3 separate regions of the Homo sapiens genome follow, and regions 2 and 3 are each linked to region 1. Evidence: promoter capture Hi-C in human tissues and cell types (Jung and others, 2019). All regions are on one chromosome and are shown on one strand. The core of a region is centred on a gene start or on the middle of the fragment in contact, and the rest is flanking DNA. Distances in the headings are between cores, read along the strand shown.

Region 1 (4,563 bases), core at 798-3,297:
GATTTAAGTGGGACTCAGGCTGGACTTGCTGAGGGTGTGGGAAGGGGGGCAGGGCCCCGGTGAGGAGGGACATGCCCCCCAAACATGGTTCTTTGGTCCTGCTACCTCCCACCCAAGACTTCCCTCCCTCCTTGCCCACTGCCTCTAGGCTGTGAAACTGCTGTGGAACCAAGGCCCTACCACAGGGTGCGCCAGCCAGGGAAGTGGGGGTGGCAGGGGTGGGGGGCACCCTGCTCCCCAGTCGAAGCCTCGGAGTCCCTGAGGGGGGTGTGGTGTGGTGCATGTCCCTCCCAGCATTTGGTTGCACCGTCTGCAGGGGAGGTGCACCAGGAGCGCCAAAGCTGTGAGTGGCCCTCATGCCACCTAAGATGCCACTTCGAATCCCAAGTCTCCTTGGGCGATGGTACAGGGGGGCCAATCAGTGCCCCGGAGGCAGTTGTGAACACCTGCGCCCACTTCTGCCCAGGGCAGGGAGGGGCCTCCGTGCACATCCGCCACCCTCCTCATGTGCCGCCACCCTCCCTGGCCAGGAAGCTCACAACTTGATTCTACTTTATTTTCTCAATCTTCATCCCCCCGCCACGCCTCCCCTAGCTCGTGGCCTTTGAATGCTTGTTTCTGGCTGGTTGGCTTCTCTTGGCCTCCTGGGACGGTGTGTGAATGGCCCTCAGAAGAGACAGTGCTGGAGTTCTGCACTCTTAGGGCCCCCAATACCCCCGAGGCCTGGGCATGCAGAGGCCACTGCCCTGGCCCAAGTCTGGGGCAGGTGCAGCATCCCCTGGGACCTTGGCCCCTCACCACCGGCCCAGTTTCCTCTGAGACTGGGGGTCCCACGGGCTCCTAGCAAGTAGATGAGGAGACCGAAAGTAGCCCTGCAGCTGGGCTTTCTTTCAGGGGTCAAGTTTCTAGGGAAAGGAAGGGGCGTGGCAACCTGAGGTTTGGTAGCTGTACCCAGACGGGGCTGTCTGTGGCTTCCCCAGGCAGCAGTTCTTCCTCCTCTCTGTCCCCACCCAGGGTCCTCCCCCACACTCTAGCACCCCTGAGACTGTCCCCCTGGGCTACCATCTCCACCCCAGCTCTGAACTGGAGGAGGGGACGTGTTTAGGGGTGCAGGGCCGGGGTGCTAGGGGCTGCATTTGCTGCAGAGCAGGGAGCCAGCCCCTTCTTTCCCAGTTGCAGGCCCTGGACCTGGTCACCTGTCCCTGGACCTGGCTTCCTGTACCCTTCTCAGGTCAACTGGGGCAACCCATGTCCCCAGGCTACCCTCCCCCCGTCTCTCCTGGGGGATACAGAGTCTCAACTAGGGTCCTCCTGCTTGTCAACCTGGCATTGGGGACCCCCTTCCCCAGCCTCCCAGGCTTTGGCCCCCAAGTCTGGGATGGGATAGGCTGGATAGGCGGCACGTCTGCTCTCTGGGGATAGAGGATCCCTTGGGAGTGGCTGCCGCTTTGCTCCACAGAAGGAAAAAGAACGTCCCAGAGCCTGCCCAGTCCAAAAAAAGAATAAGAAAATGTGACAATCCCAGAAAAAAATGTCATAACCTTTGGGAGGGGGGTTGAAGAGGGGCTCCATTCTCAGTCCTTAGCTCCTACCCAGGGCCTTTCCCATCTGCCACCCTCCACATCTGGCTGGTGGGCGAGCCCTGGCCTGGCCCCTCCAGGGAAGGCCAGCTCTCCCCACCTCTGAAATGGTGGTGGTGGCCCACCCACCACGCTCCTCTCTCTGCTGTTAGGGTCCAGTCTGGAGAAGCCTGTGTTCTCCTCCAGGTGCCTCTTTCTTCAGCCTCTGACGCCCCCACCCCTACCTCAAAGCTCCCTACTCACCAGCGACCCAAAGGCGGGGTGGGGGCAGGAGGGGCCAGGTTGGGTCTGGGCCCCACCCTGGCTGCCGAAGGGGCGTGCACTGCAGCAGCAGGGACTCAAGTCAGACGGCAGGAGGGACTCCTGCGGCGCTCTGGAGGGAGGCTAGCGCCAGGAGCCCCCGATCGGCTGGGGCCGGGGGCGCAGCGCCTCCCCTACAGCTCGAAGGGCTGAGTGGCTGCCAGATCCAGCGGGGTGGGGGCGGGGGCGGACAGGGTGTCCCGCCCCGGCCCCTCCTCACCGGGCTGAGAGGGGGAGGGAGACGCGGAAACCTGGGTTCTTCCGGCCCCCACCTTTGAGCAATCACTTCCCCAGGCTTTGAGCTCCAGAAAAAGGGGAACCCGGCTGCGGCGCCCCCTCCCCCACGCGCGGGGGGCGGGCTCCACTTCCACTGCGGCCCAGGGTCCACGTGGACCTGGCGGCGGGAGCCCTTGGGGTTCGAGTCCCGTGCGCCGGCTCCCGAAGCTCCCGCCCAGCACGGTCCCCGGGCCCGGGCCGGGAGGGGCAGGGCCGCTGTCCCCGGCGCTGCGCGCGCGCACTCACCAGCCGCGCTCCCGAGCCACTCGCGCCGCCGCCGGCCCGCGCGCTCCAAGGTCCGGCCCGACAGTCGGGGAGGGGGCGCGGGGGCGCAGTGCGCAGGCGCCTCGGCGGCACTTCCCCAAAGCCAGGGGCCGGGACTTCCTCGCGCCGGCGGTCGCCGGGCCCGCCCCGCCCGCCGCGCCCCGCCCCGCGCTCGGCCGGCTCCGCACCCCACCCGCCCCGCCCGCGCGTCGGCCCCCACAGTCGCCTGGGGGTGGCCCGGAGAGTCGAGGTGCTCATAGTGGAGCCCTGGCTCCCGGGCGGACGGAGCCGCACGGTAGTAGATGGGGGTGTGGCCGTGGCCCCCGACTCTGCTCGGCGGGGCCGTTCCTGCTTTGCCATCCGTGTGGGACTTCCACGACAGTGGAGGCACGAGAGCTGGGCCCCATATGCTGCTTGCCCAGCTTGGGAAAGAGGAGGCTGCTGCAAAGGACCGATCGGCGGGTACGCCAGCCCGGCCCACCCCTCGCCTCCGTGAGCCGCGTCTGTAAAACTGGGTTAAGAGCCGCCTGTCTGTGCTGTGGGGGGTTCCCAAGGAAGGGGGAGATTCCTGTGCTGCGGGGCTGGGGAGAACTGGGGGTGCGGGTTCTTGCATCCGGAGTCATGCCGAATGTCTCCTGTGGGGCCTGGCAGAGTCCCTGCTGACCCGTGTGTCCCAAGATGTCCTAAAGCTTAAGGCCACACTGTCCCCTTTGCCACGAACGCCCTGTCCCTTTGGCCGACTCTTCTCATCCTTTATGACTCGGTACAGACGTGGGTTAGGCTTCTCATCGCAGCATGCTTTGGCCCTGTGTCAGGGTGGCCCTGACCCTGCTCTGGAAGTGTCTGCAGAGCATCTGTGCCCCCCGCCCCTCCCCTGGCCCGGCTGTGTGCAGCTCCTGTCCTCCCCAGCACAAGCACTCCACCCGGATAGTTCCCAGTGTCGGGATCTGTTCATAAAATGCCTTCCAGTTGCACAGGTCAGGTGCACACCTTACACCTTCACAGAACTCTGAGGGGTGCAAAGGCAGCTGGAGATTCTACTTGTATTCCTCATTCAACGGACAAGTATCAGTATCTGGGTGCCCCTGTGGGCCAGGCAGTAGGACCAGAAGCCAGCAACATAGATCAGCCTGGATCTTATGCTGGGGGGCGCAGAGTGAGTTGTGGGGAGCAGGCAGGGAAGGCCTGGGTGAGAGGGGGGAGGGCTGAGGAGGGGAGGGTATTGCGCTGCTGAGCGGGGGCGGGGGCCCGAAGGGGGAGGTCAGAGGTCAGAGGGCCCTGGAGGACAGACAGGCTGCCTCTCGAAGCTGTACCCAGAACCCTGTGACTGCCATGTTGTCAGGCCAGGCAAGGAAAGGCAGGGGCCAGGAAGCCCACAGGGACAAGAGGCAGGCTGCTACTTATTCAGCCCACATAACACTCCTGAGCGGTGGGCACAGGTGAGGTCAGGGAAGCTCAACGAAGATGGGCCAGCACCTGGCCCAGGCCACACACAACCAGGCTGACCCCGCTGAGCCGGCCTGTTGTCTCTGCTGTGGGAAAATGCAGCTGTGGGCAGCTGGCAGGGGGTGAAGGTCAGTGCCCTCCCTGCCCCCTCGGGTCACTCTACAACCCCCCAGTCATTCCCCCGTCTCCTCTGGCCCCTTGGGCCTGCTCTCCACCGCCCTGGCTTCTGCCTCTCGGCACACAGCATCCTGAAGTCCATGGGTGGGGCCAGGTGAGCTGGGCAGTTGATGGCGGAGCTGGGATTTGAACCCAGGACCCTCTGCGCCCTGACAGCCCTCAATATATTGGGCTTTGGACCACATGCCTTCCTTCCCATAGAGCTTTCTACAGGCAGGCGTCCCTCCAGGCCCCATTCCCCAGCCTCCTTTGCACATCCAGCACCCCCTGCGCCTTTTCATGGGGATCAAAGGGCCCGAGTGCCGGCCTGACCCTGGTGCAGTCACTGAGGTCACTGTCTTGCTGGCCTTCTCTGGGTGCTGGGTCTGCTGTGCCTGTCTCTGCCCCTCTTCCCTCTTGCCTGTCTGATGCAGAGTGACCCATCCCCTTTGGAGCACTTGCTGCTGTGGGGTACTGCACCAAGACCCTTATTTTAAAGATAAAGAAATGGAGTCTCAGAGAAATGGTGAAATAATATGTG
Region 2 (4,563 bases), core at 696-3,195, 500 kb before region 1:
TTAGTCCCAGGATGGGTCTACGCCCCCCGGGGCCTCCCAGCTGCTCTGTCCTCTCTCCCTGCCTGGCCTCTGCACACACAGCCATGTGCGTGTGACATTGTGAAATATACATTAACATATTTGGTCTCGTCCCGTTTCCTGGCAAAAACCCCTAAAATCCCTGGAGTAGCCAAAGTGGCAAGTGCCTTTTTGTGCTGATATTGACCGAAGGCTGGCAGCCTGGAGGCAGCCTCAGGATGGGGCTGGTCCTCAGAAAGGCCTCAGCAGGAGTAGAGGGTGGTACTTGCAGCCTTGCCCCAACCTCCAGGCAGGGGAGGGGAGAGGCGGCTGAAGGCGGTCCTCACCAGTGGCCAGTGACGTAATCAATCATGCCTGGGTAATGAAGCCTCCATGAAGTCGCAAAAGGACAGGGCTCAGAGAGCCGTGGAGGTTCCTGGACGGGGTGCCCTTGTGGGGTGAAAGCTCTGCGCCCCTCCCCTTACGCATCTCTTCATCTGCGTCCTTTGTAACGTCCTTTATAATAAATGGGTAAACATGTTTCCCTGAGTTCTGTGAGCTGCTCTAGGAAATTAATCTGACCCAAATATGGGGGTTAGGAACCTCAATTTATAGCCAATTGGTCTGAAGCACCCGGGGCTTGAGATTGGCATGGGGAGTGGGCAGCAGCCTTGTGTGGACATCTCCAGGTAGATGAGGATGTCTAAGGACAGATGGCGTCTCCAGCTAGATGGTGTCTCCAGGTAGACAACAACGTCTATGAATTGACGGTGTCTCCAGGTTAACAACAATGTCTCCAGGTTAACAACAATGTCTCCAGGTAGACAACAATGTCTATGAATTGATGGTGTCTCCAGGTTGACAACAATGTCTATGAATTGATGGTGTCTCCAGGTTGACAACAGTGTCTCCAGGTAGACAACAATGTCTCCAGGTTAACAACAATGTCTATGAAAAGACGGTGTCTCCAGGTAGACAACAATGTCTATGAATTGATGGTGTCTCCAGGTTGACAACAATGTTTCCAGGTTAACAACAATGTCTATGAATAGACGGTGTCTCCAGGTTGACAACAATGCCTATGAATAGATGGTGTCTCCAGGTTAACAATAATGTCTCCAGGTAGACAACAACGTCTATGAATTGATGGTGTCTCCAGGTTGACAACAATGTCTCCAGGTTAACAACAATGTCTATAAATTGATGGTGTCTCCAGGTTGACAACAATGTCTATGAATTGATGGTGTCTCCAGGTTAACAATAATGTCTCCAGGTTGACAACAATGTCTATGAATTGATGGTGTCTCCAGGTTGACAACAATGTCTCCAGGTAGATGATGGTGTCTATGGGTGGACAATGTCTCCAGGTTGATCTGGAATCCCTCCCACTGCAGACCCTATCACCTCCTCCACTCAAGGTGTGAGCTTTTGGCTGGTGGGAGGGCGCCCGGGAGGGTCTCTGGAAAGATGGGAACTGGGTGTTAAAGACCTGCTTAAGTGAGTTATACCCAGAGGCCGTCAGTTCCTGCCCGAGAGCACATGGCCCACAGTCACAGGTAAACTGAGGCCTGGCCCTAAGCCCTGGGGACCTCCACCTGCACTGTGATGCTGGGGAGGGTGTGTGGGTTTTCCCGCAGGGTTCGGGTGATAGCGGACGGCACAGGGCAGCAGACAATGGCTCCAAGTAGACGTCTCTAGGTAGATGGTGTCTTCAGGTAGATGGTATCGGAATTAAACTGGAGCACGCCCAGCCGGCGTCGGCTGCAAAACTGACTAATCTGTTGTTGGAACAGAACCCCCACCTGGTGTCAGCAGTGAGCTGTGCTGTGAGAGTGCAGGAGAAACAGCCTAGTTTTCTGACATCATTAGAGGTGATGAGCCACCTTCTCAGCCCCTGCTCACCTCTCCCCCACACTGAAGCCTGCTGGAGCCCTCAGGCCAGGCCCTGAGCAGGAGGCATGGGGTAGGTGTTGCAGGATCTAAAAGGCCTCCCAGGGGCAACAGAGAGCCTGGCCAGGGGCTGTGCCTTTCTCTGCTTGCCCCCACAGCACCCCCAAAGCTTGAGGCTTGATCAGATATCCCTGAGGTCTCCTGGCAGGGACCTTCCTAGTCCTCACTGGCCCCCAGTGTCCCTCTGCCATGTGGCCGCCTCTCCGGGATGACAGGGGGAGGGGCCACACTCCTGCTGGGGCTGGAGATGTTGGGGTCTGGAGTGGGTGTGGGCCTGCCCTGGGGCTGCTCTGGGCATCTGGTTGACACAGAGCCAGGTGCCTGTGCGCCCCGTGGGGCAGCTGTGCCCAGCCTGGCTGCCCTGGAGGAGGGAGCCAAAACCTGGGCCTTTCCACCCAGCCTTCCGGTCTCCCCTCTTCTCCCTGGACATACAGGAATGTGGCTTGCTCCTGACGCCCAGAAGTTCAAGTCCAGAACGTTACTGCAGATGTCGGGAGAGACAAGACAGGACAGAAGGGAGCCTGGGTCAGACCCAGGTCTGCGGTCTGTTGGTCCCCGAAGGGCCTGAGGCGGGGAAAGGACAGTCTTCAACAAGTGGCAGCTGGAACACGGAGTAAAGTTTCGGGAAAAACGAAGCTCAGCCCCACCTCGCATTGCACACAAAATTTAATTCAAGATGGAACATCTAAGCATCAAAGCTAAACTGTAACGCTTCTAGAAGAAAACAGGAGAAATCTTCACAACCTTGGGATAGGCATATATTTTTTTCTTTTCTTTTCTTTTTTTTTTTTTTGAGACAGTCTTGCTCTGTCGCCCAGGCTGGAGTGCAGTGGCGTGATTTTGGCTCACTGCAAGCTCTGCCTCCCGGGTTGATGCCATTCTCCTGCCTCAGCCTCCCGAGTAGCTGGGACTACAGGCGCCCACCACCACGCCCAGCTGATTTTTTGTATTTTTAGTAGAGACGGGGTTTCACCATGTTAGCCAGGATGGTCTTGGTCTCCTGACCCTGACCTCGTGATCCACCCGCCTAGGCCTCCCAAAGTGCTGGGACTACAGGCGTGAGCTACCGCACCCAGCCGGCATATATTTCTTTAAAAAGACATAAAAGGTAGAAATATAAGAGAAAAAAATTGATAAACAAGGTTATATAAGTAAAAAATGTCTGTACCAGTGAGAAAAATGAAAAGTCAAGCTATTAGTTGAGACAAAAATATTCAAAATACACATATCTGATGAACTATATGCAAACTGAAAATGTTTTTATCTTTGTTATTATTATTATGCTTTGAGACGGTCTTGCTCTATTGCCCAGGCTGGAGCGCAGAGGTGTGATCACAGCTCACTGCAGCCTTGAACTCCGGGCTCAGACAATCCTCCGACCTCAGCGTCCCAAGTAGCTGGGACTCCAGGCATGCACCAACACCCTCAGCTAATTTTAAAATTTTTTGTAGAGATGGGGTCTCACTATGTTGCCCAGGCTGATCTTGAACTCCTGGCCTCAAGTGATCCTCCTGCCTCGGCCTCCCAAAGTGTTGGGACTACAGGGGTGAGCCACCACTCCTAGAAGGCAGATTTTTTTTAATCTCAAAACTCAAAAGTCCAGTTTTTAAAAACAAACAAAATATTTGAACAGACACTCCACACAAGAACATATACAAATGACCAAAAGCACGTGAGAAGGTGCTTACCATCCAGTCACTGGGACACGCAAATGGGACCCAGCGAGAAACCACCTCACACGGGCAGACCGACTGCGTCCAGAGTGAGGACGGCTCGTGCCGCGGAGGGTGCGGAGCAGCCACCGCTCCCGTTGGTGCTGGTGGGGATACAAGACGGCACAGCCACCTTGGAAAACAGCTCGGTCATTTCCGATACAGTTAAATGAACATCTGTCTCAGGATCCAGCAGTTCGACTCCTGCAAATCTACCCAAGAGAAATGAAAAAAGGATCTTCATTCTTCACAACGCCTGGGCCAGGGAGCCCCTCCTGCTGGGGCCAGCGTGCTGACGCCCACACAGAGACACCCGCCGGTTCACAGCAGCCCCATTCCCAGCAGCCCCAGACTGAAAACAGCTCCAATGCGTATCACCAGGCGGCTGAATAAACAAACCGTGGAACGTCTGTACGACACAACACTACTCAGACAAAACCAAAACCGAACACGTCCGACCCACACAGAAGCATGGAGGAATCTCAGAAACAGTTCAGTGAAAGAGGCCAAACACAGACGAGTATTAAATGTGCGGTTCCGTTTCTATGAAGCTCAGGAACAGACGAATTCTAAAAACCAGGTCAGTGACTGTGAGGACAGGCCCGACTAGAGAAGGGAACAAGGGGAGTGTCCTCTGCCTGGTGCAGGCAGCAGGTACATGTGTCTGTATTGCTTAAAACTCATCCAAGGCTGGGCGCAGTGGCCTGTCATCCCAGCACTTTGAGAGGCTGAGGTGGGCGGATCACTTGAGGGCAGGAGTTCAAGACCAGCCTGGCCAACATGGTGAAACCCCATCTCTACTAAAAATACAAAAATTAGCCAGACATGGTGGTGCGTGCCTGTAGTCCCAGCTACTCTACTCGGGAGGTTGAGGCAGGAGAATTGCTTGAACCCAGGAGGCAGA
Region 3 (4,563 bases), core at 741-3,240, 380 kb before region 1:
ACAGGATGGGGCTCAGGCCAGCCCTAGTCGCCGGGGCCCACACTAACCCCCCACTTATGAATTCCTCCCACTCCCAACTCACAGGGGATTTCCCGAGAGGGGACCTGCCAAAGACCTCCTCCAGGCCTCCCATGCTTTCCGGGAAGTGAAGCTTCTCCCTCTCTGGGGCAGGCTCTGAAGCCTCCCGATGCACCCAGAGCAACCGGGGGGCTGCACCAGCCACTCGCCTCCCCAGCACGGCCAGGTTCCCGGGGCTGGAGGTCCCCCCCAGGTCCTGGGAACCAACCTGCAGAACACACACAGGGTCCCCTGGAGAGGACGCGGGGACTTCCAGGGCCCGACTCCTGTGAGTCACAGCCCCGCAGCTGCTGCGCCACCCCCACCCTGACTCATGCCCCTTCCCAGCAGCTCCTCCCAGGACCCCATGTCCTTCCCACATCCGCAGGAAGGGAGTGCCTGGACTCTCCAGGCCCACCTGGGGAGCCCCTCACCTGCCCACCAGCCCCTGAGCAGCCCAGTAACACCATCACCGTGTCCAACAGCCAGGAGCCTCCACCCTCCAGGAGGGAAGGGATGGACAGAGCCACACTCGCCGTCTTTATTTTGCACTCACCCTGGGTGACACTGGGCAGGCCGCTCCTGCCCACAGCCAGACTGAGGAAGAACACAGCACTCGGCAGGCCCAGTGGGGTCCGTGCAGGGAGGACCCCAGGACCAGCCTTACTCCCGAGCAGGGGACACAGGGCCCCACAGAGAACCCCTCCGGGAGGTTCTCTCCTGGCTGGGGGAGGGCTCTGGACCCCCACAAACACTCCCCAACTTGCGGGGCTGGGGCATAAAAACAGCCACTCCCAGCAGGCCCCCTCAGCTTTTTGCATCAGTCAGCTCCCTCCCGGGGGATTAGGGTGAGGTGAAGCCAGGCCCAGGCGTGGGGTATAGGTCTTCCCCCGCAGGCCTCAGCCCTGTCCCGAGGCTGCATCACAATCCAGGGCCCCCGCTGGCCTTTGGGAACATGGCCTGGGTCTTCCTCAAGGCAAGATCAGCCCCAGACCACTTCCGGGGTCACGGGGTCACGGGGTCACAGGGCAGAAGCCAGATGGCAGCCATGGCTGACGGGCCTCCTCCTCGATGGGGCGGAGACAGCCACGGGGTCTCCCGAGGGTCCCACAGGGCTGTCCTCATGCAGCCCAAGCCAGCCTGAGCACTGGAGCCCCAATTCCCAACCAGGTCTCCCTCAGACCCCCCAGAAAGGGCCTCGAAAGGCCGCCGCTGCGCCCTGTGGAAAGGCTGCCGCTGCAGGGCCTGGGCCAGCCGGGCTGCCAGACTCCCCTCCAAAGCCTCCGGATGCCTACGCTTTTCCAGACATAGAGGAAAGTTTGTCTTCGAGAAAACAAAGTAAATAGAAGAACCCCAAAGCAAAGCAAACCCACCCCCCAGATCAGCAGCATGGGAGCCAACAGGAGGCCACTCCTCCAGCACCAGGGGACCAGCCGTCCCGACGGCAGCGCGGCTGCGCCTACGTGATGTCCCTCTGCCGCGGCGGCCGGTGCACATTCCGCACGACACACTTCACCATCCACTCGATGCCCTCGCGCACCCCTTTGCTGTGAAGACAGCGGGTGTGAGGCGGGGGGTCTCGGTCCCCAAAGCCCCCGCAGGTGCAGCCCCCACTCACCCTGTGAGGGCCGAGCAGGCCTGGGTCAGGCAATCTCGCCTGCCGATCTTGCTGGTGCAGTCGCTGAAGGCCGTCTTGATGTCAGGGATTGAGAGGCACGTCTGGGGGAGGTAAGGCCGTGAGGAGCAGCCCCCACGTCTGGCCCTGTCCTGCCTGTGGGCCCGGGACTCTCAGAAGGGCGTATGCCCTTCACCCCAGGGAAACAGCCAGAGCTCCACCAGGGTCCCAGTGTCTCCCACAGAGACCACAGCAGTGAGGACCCTGTGCTCAGCCCGAGGCTGAACATGGCTGGTAGTGCCTGAGACAAACTAGACGTCCACACGGCTCCAAGGAGTCCACCCCCCATCCCCTCCCTGGGGGACACCCTGAGCCCCGAGGTGGGGCGCTGAGGACTGAGGCCTCCTGGGCAGTGGCGGAGGCAGGTCCCAGGGGCCCACACAGCCGGGGATGATGGAGAGGTGGGAGCCCTGCATCAGTGATGGAGGCAGTCTGCAGTCATGGTGGCTTCTGCTCACAACCACCTGCCCAGTCTTCAAAAAGCAGCCCTCCCCTCCCCTTTTCCTCCGAGGGGAGACCCCTGCCCCGTACCAGATGTCCCTCTTGTCGGCTGAGATTGTAGGGGAGGCCAGCCTTACAGGCTGGGGGCAACAGAGCCACCCCAGAGAAGGCAGGAAGTGAAGATTCACCTGGCCCTCTGGACGCCGGGCTGCTTCTGTGCAAAGCCACTCCAAGAGAACAGCTAGAACTCAGCGTGGCCAGTGCTCCCGGGGGCAGTGGCACCTCAGAGGGGTCTTGAGGGGCTGCCCTGGGGGTGGGGCTGGCACAGATGCCACCTCCAAGGGTAGCAGGAACAGGTAAGGGTCAGAGCTGACTCCCACCAGGGCCCCAGCATCACTTCTTTGAGCTCTGAGTTTCACCTGGGTGTCCCCACAGCTTGGCCACACACTCCTGAGACACGGCCGCCCTCCTGGGGAGAGGTGCCCTGCATAGCAGGAAGAGGCCTCTGGGCGCCTGCCCTGAGGTGGGAGAACCTCCAGGGCTGGCAGCAGCAGGTCTGGAGAGGAACCAGGCTTGGGAAGCTGCTGGGGGCAGGGCAGGCCTTGAGAATGGCTCTGTACCCCCTGGGCAGTCACTGGGCCTGGGGTGTCTGGGTGCACACCTGCTCCCCTTGCTGTGGGGGAGGCTGGGGACTCGGGAAGCTGCTGCGGGAGGCAGGGGTGGGGCTCACCTCCACATCCTGCTTGTTGGCCAGCACCAAGACGGGGACACCGCACAGCGCCTCGCTGGTCACCACCTTCTCTGGGGAGGGCAGGAGAGGCAGCGCCTCACACCCAGCATCCTGCCTCTGACTGCCCAGGGGCCCACAGGCGTGGACACTGTGACAGCCACTCCCTCTGCCCCCCCCCCCCCCGTCACCCACTAGGCAGGAGCACTTCTGACCAGACACTGAGCCTGCCCCAGGCACAGAGCTGCCCAAGCTGGACCTGCCCCCACTCACCATCCATCCCTCCCAGAGCAGCCAGGCCGCACTCACCAAACGCCTGCTTGGACTCAGCCAGCCTCTCCTCGTCGGTGGAGTCAATGACGTAGATGACGCCGTGACACTCCGCATAATACTGGGAGGAAGCACCAGGAGTTGGGGCTCAGTCCCCACCCTGCCAAGGGCCAGCAGAGCCAGGCCTGTGTCATGGCCACAGTGAGGGGCTCACATGAGGAAGGGGCAAGAGGGCAGCCCCCAACTGCAAGACCCTTCTGGGATGCATTCTGGGGTTGCGGGGAGATCTGGTGGAGGTGTCCCCAGACGCTGCTCCTGAGAACCTGCCGGCAACCTTTGGCCTGATGGTGGCCAAAGGTGAAAGACAGGGATTGGGCCAGGCGTGGTGGCTCACACTTATTATCCCAACACTTTGGGAGGCAGAAGCAGGAGGATCACCTGAGCCCACTTCACGGCCAACCTGGGCAACACAGTGAGACTCCGTCTGTACAAAAGCTTATGGTAATGTGCGCCTGCAGTCCTAGCTACTCGGGAGGCTGAGGTGGGAGGATGGCTTGAGCCTGGGAGGTTGAGGCTGTAGTGAGCTCTGATCACACCACTGCACTCCAGCCTGGGTGAGAATGAGAGACCCTGTCTCAAAAAAAAGATAGGGTTTGGGGGCTGGAGGAACCTAGACCACAGCCTGGCCCGTTGAGGGAGTGCACCTGTGGGGCTCTGTGCCAGCACCTCGCACAGGGAGGGAGTGTGGCCATGCGGATAAGACTGACCAGCGCCATCTACGAAGCGAGCCTTCCCTGCCAGGACAGGGCCAGAGTCACTGAGCTCAGACCTCTGCAGCCTGGGCTGGTCAGTCCTGGGCTCGCTGGCAACACTCCTGGGCAAGACAGGGCACAGCCCCTGCAGCCTCAGGTACAAGTGCTGAGCCCTGGACCAGATGAGTGCACCTCTATCTCAATCAGAAAAAAACACAGCAAACTCCGCGTCCACGTGGAGCAGACAACAGCTCACATTTGCCACTTTGCCTCCAGGCTGTGCCAGCTCTCCTGTCCAGGCATGAGTGCCCAGAGACCTAGAACTGGATGCTGACCAGGTAGGACAAGCTGGTGGTCAGTGTGTTAAGACACACACACCCGAGAGCATGAGAAGCCAGGAGGCACAGCCCAACTCTCCGAAATCCTTAGGGTGTCTGAGCAGGGAGTACCAGACAACCCCATCCCAGTGCCAGACAAGCTTGTGCACCTGCACTTCCCACAGAGGAGAGAAGCCTGTGCACCTGCACTTCCCACAGTGGAAAGGAGGAGGCCCAAGGCCAGGCCCCCCCACCCCCAGGAACTTCCCACAGTGGAGAGGAGGCCCAAGGCCAGGCGCCCTCCAGGGTTCTGCAGGTAGCGAG

What was found. Contacts are between HindIII fragments. The study calls those that stand out against the background at their distance.
Region 2: a contact is called between a fragment that was not itself captured here and the fragment with the promoter of RGS19 in region 1, in 1 of the 25 tissues and cell types used here (lymphoblastoid cells).
Region 3: a fragment that was not itself captured here is called in contact with the fragment with the promoter of RGS19 in region 1 in 1 of the 25 tissues and cell types used here (dorsolateral prefrontal cortex).

Annotation. Positions count from the first base shown.
Region 1 is chr20:64,077,471-64,082,033 of GRCh38, forward strand. It overlaps RGS19 (regulator of G protein signaling 19), which reads right to left and starts at 2,048. Exons shown (of 6, transcript NM_005873.3): 1 at 1,824-2,048. It overlaps OPRL1 (opioid related nociceptin receptor 1), which reads left to right and starts at 2,612. Exons shown (of 5, transcript NM_182647.4): 1 at 2,612-2,882. RefSeq lists silencers at 1,950-2,629, 3,023-3,196. The HindIII fragment of the contact is 4,418 bases long and covers 1,372-4,563 here.
Region 2 is chr20:63,579,152-63,583,714 of GRCh38, forward strand. No RefSeq gene overlaps it. Among named protein-coding and RNA genes, the nearest start is that of HELZ2, 7.2 kb to the left of the region's middle. RefSeq lists enhancers at 1,979-2,158, 3,442-3,942, 3,943-4,443. The HindIII fragment of the contact is 4,585 bases long and covers 1-4,238 here.
Region 3 is chr20:63,698,927-63,703,489 of GRCh38, forward strand. It overlaps ARFRP1 (ARF related protein 1), which reads right to left. Exons shown (of 8, transcript NM_001267547.3): 5 at 3,210-3,291; 6 at 2,904-2,974; 7 at 1,676-1,776; 8 at 1-1,604. The coding sequence ends at 1,517. Among named protein-coding and RNA genes, the nearest start is that of TNFRSF6B, 4.6 kb to the left of the region's middle. RefSeq lists enhancers at 1-25, 266-445, 516-565, 614-1,495, 636-715. The HindIII fragment of the contact is 4,084 bases long and covers 1-4,032 here.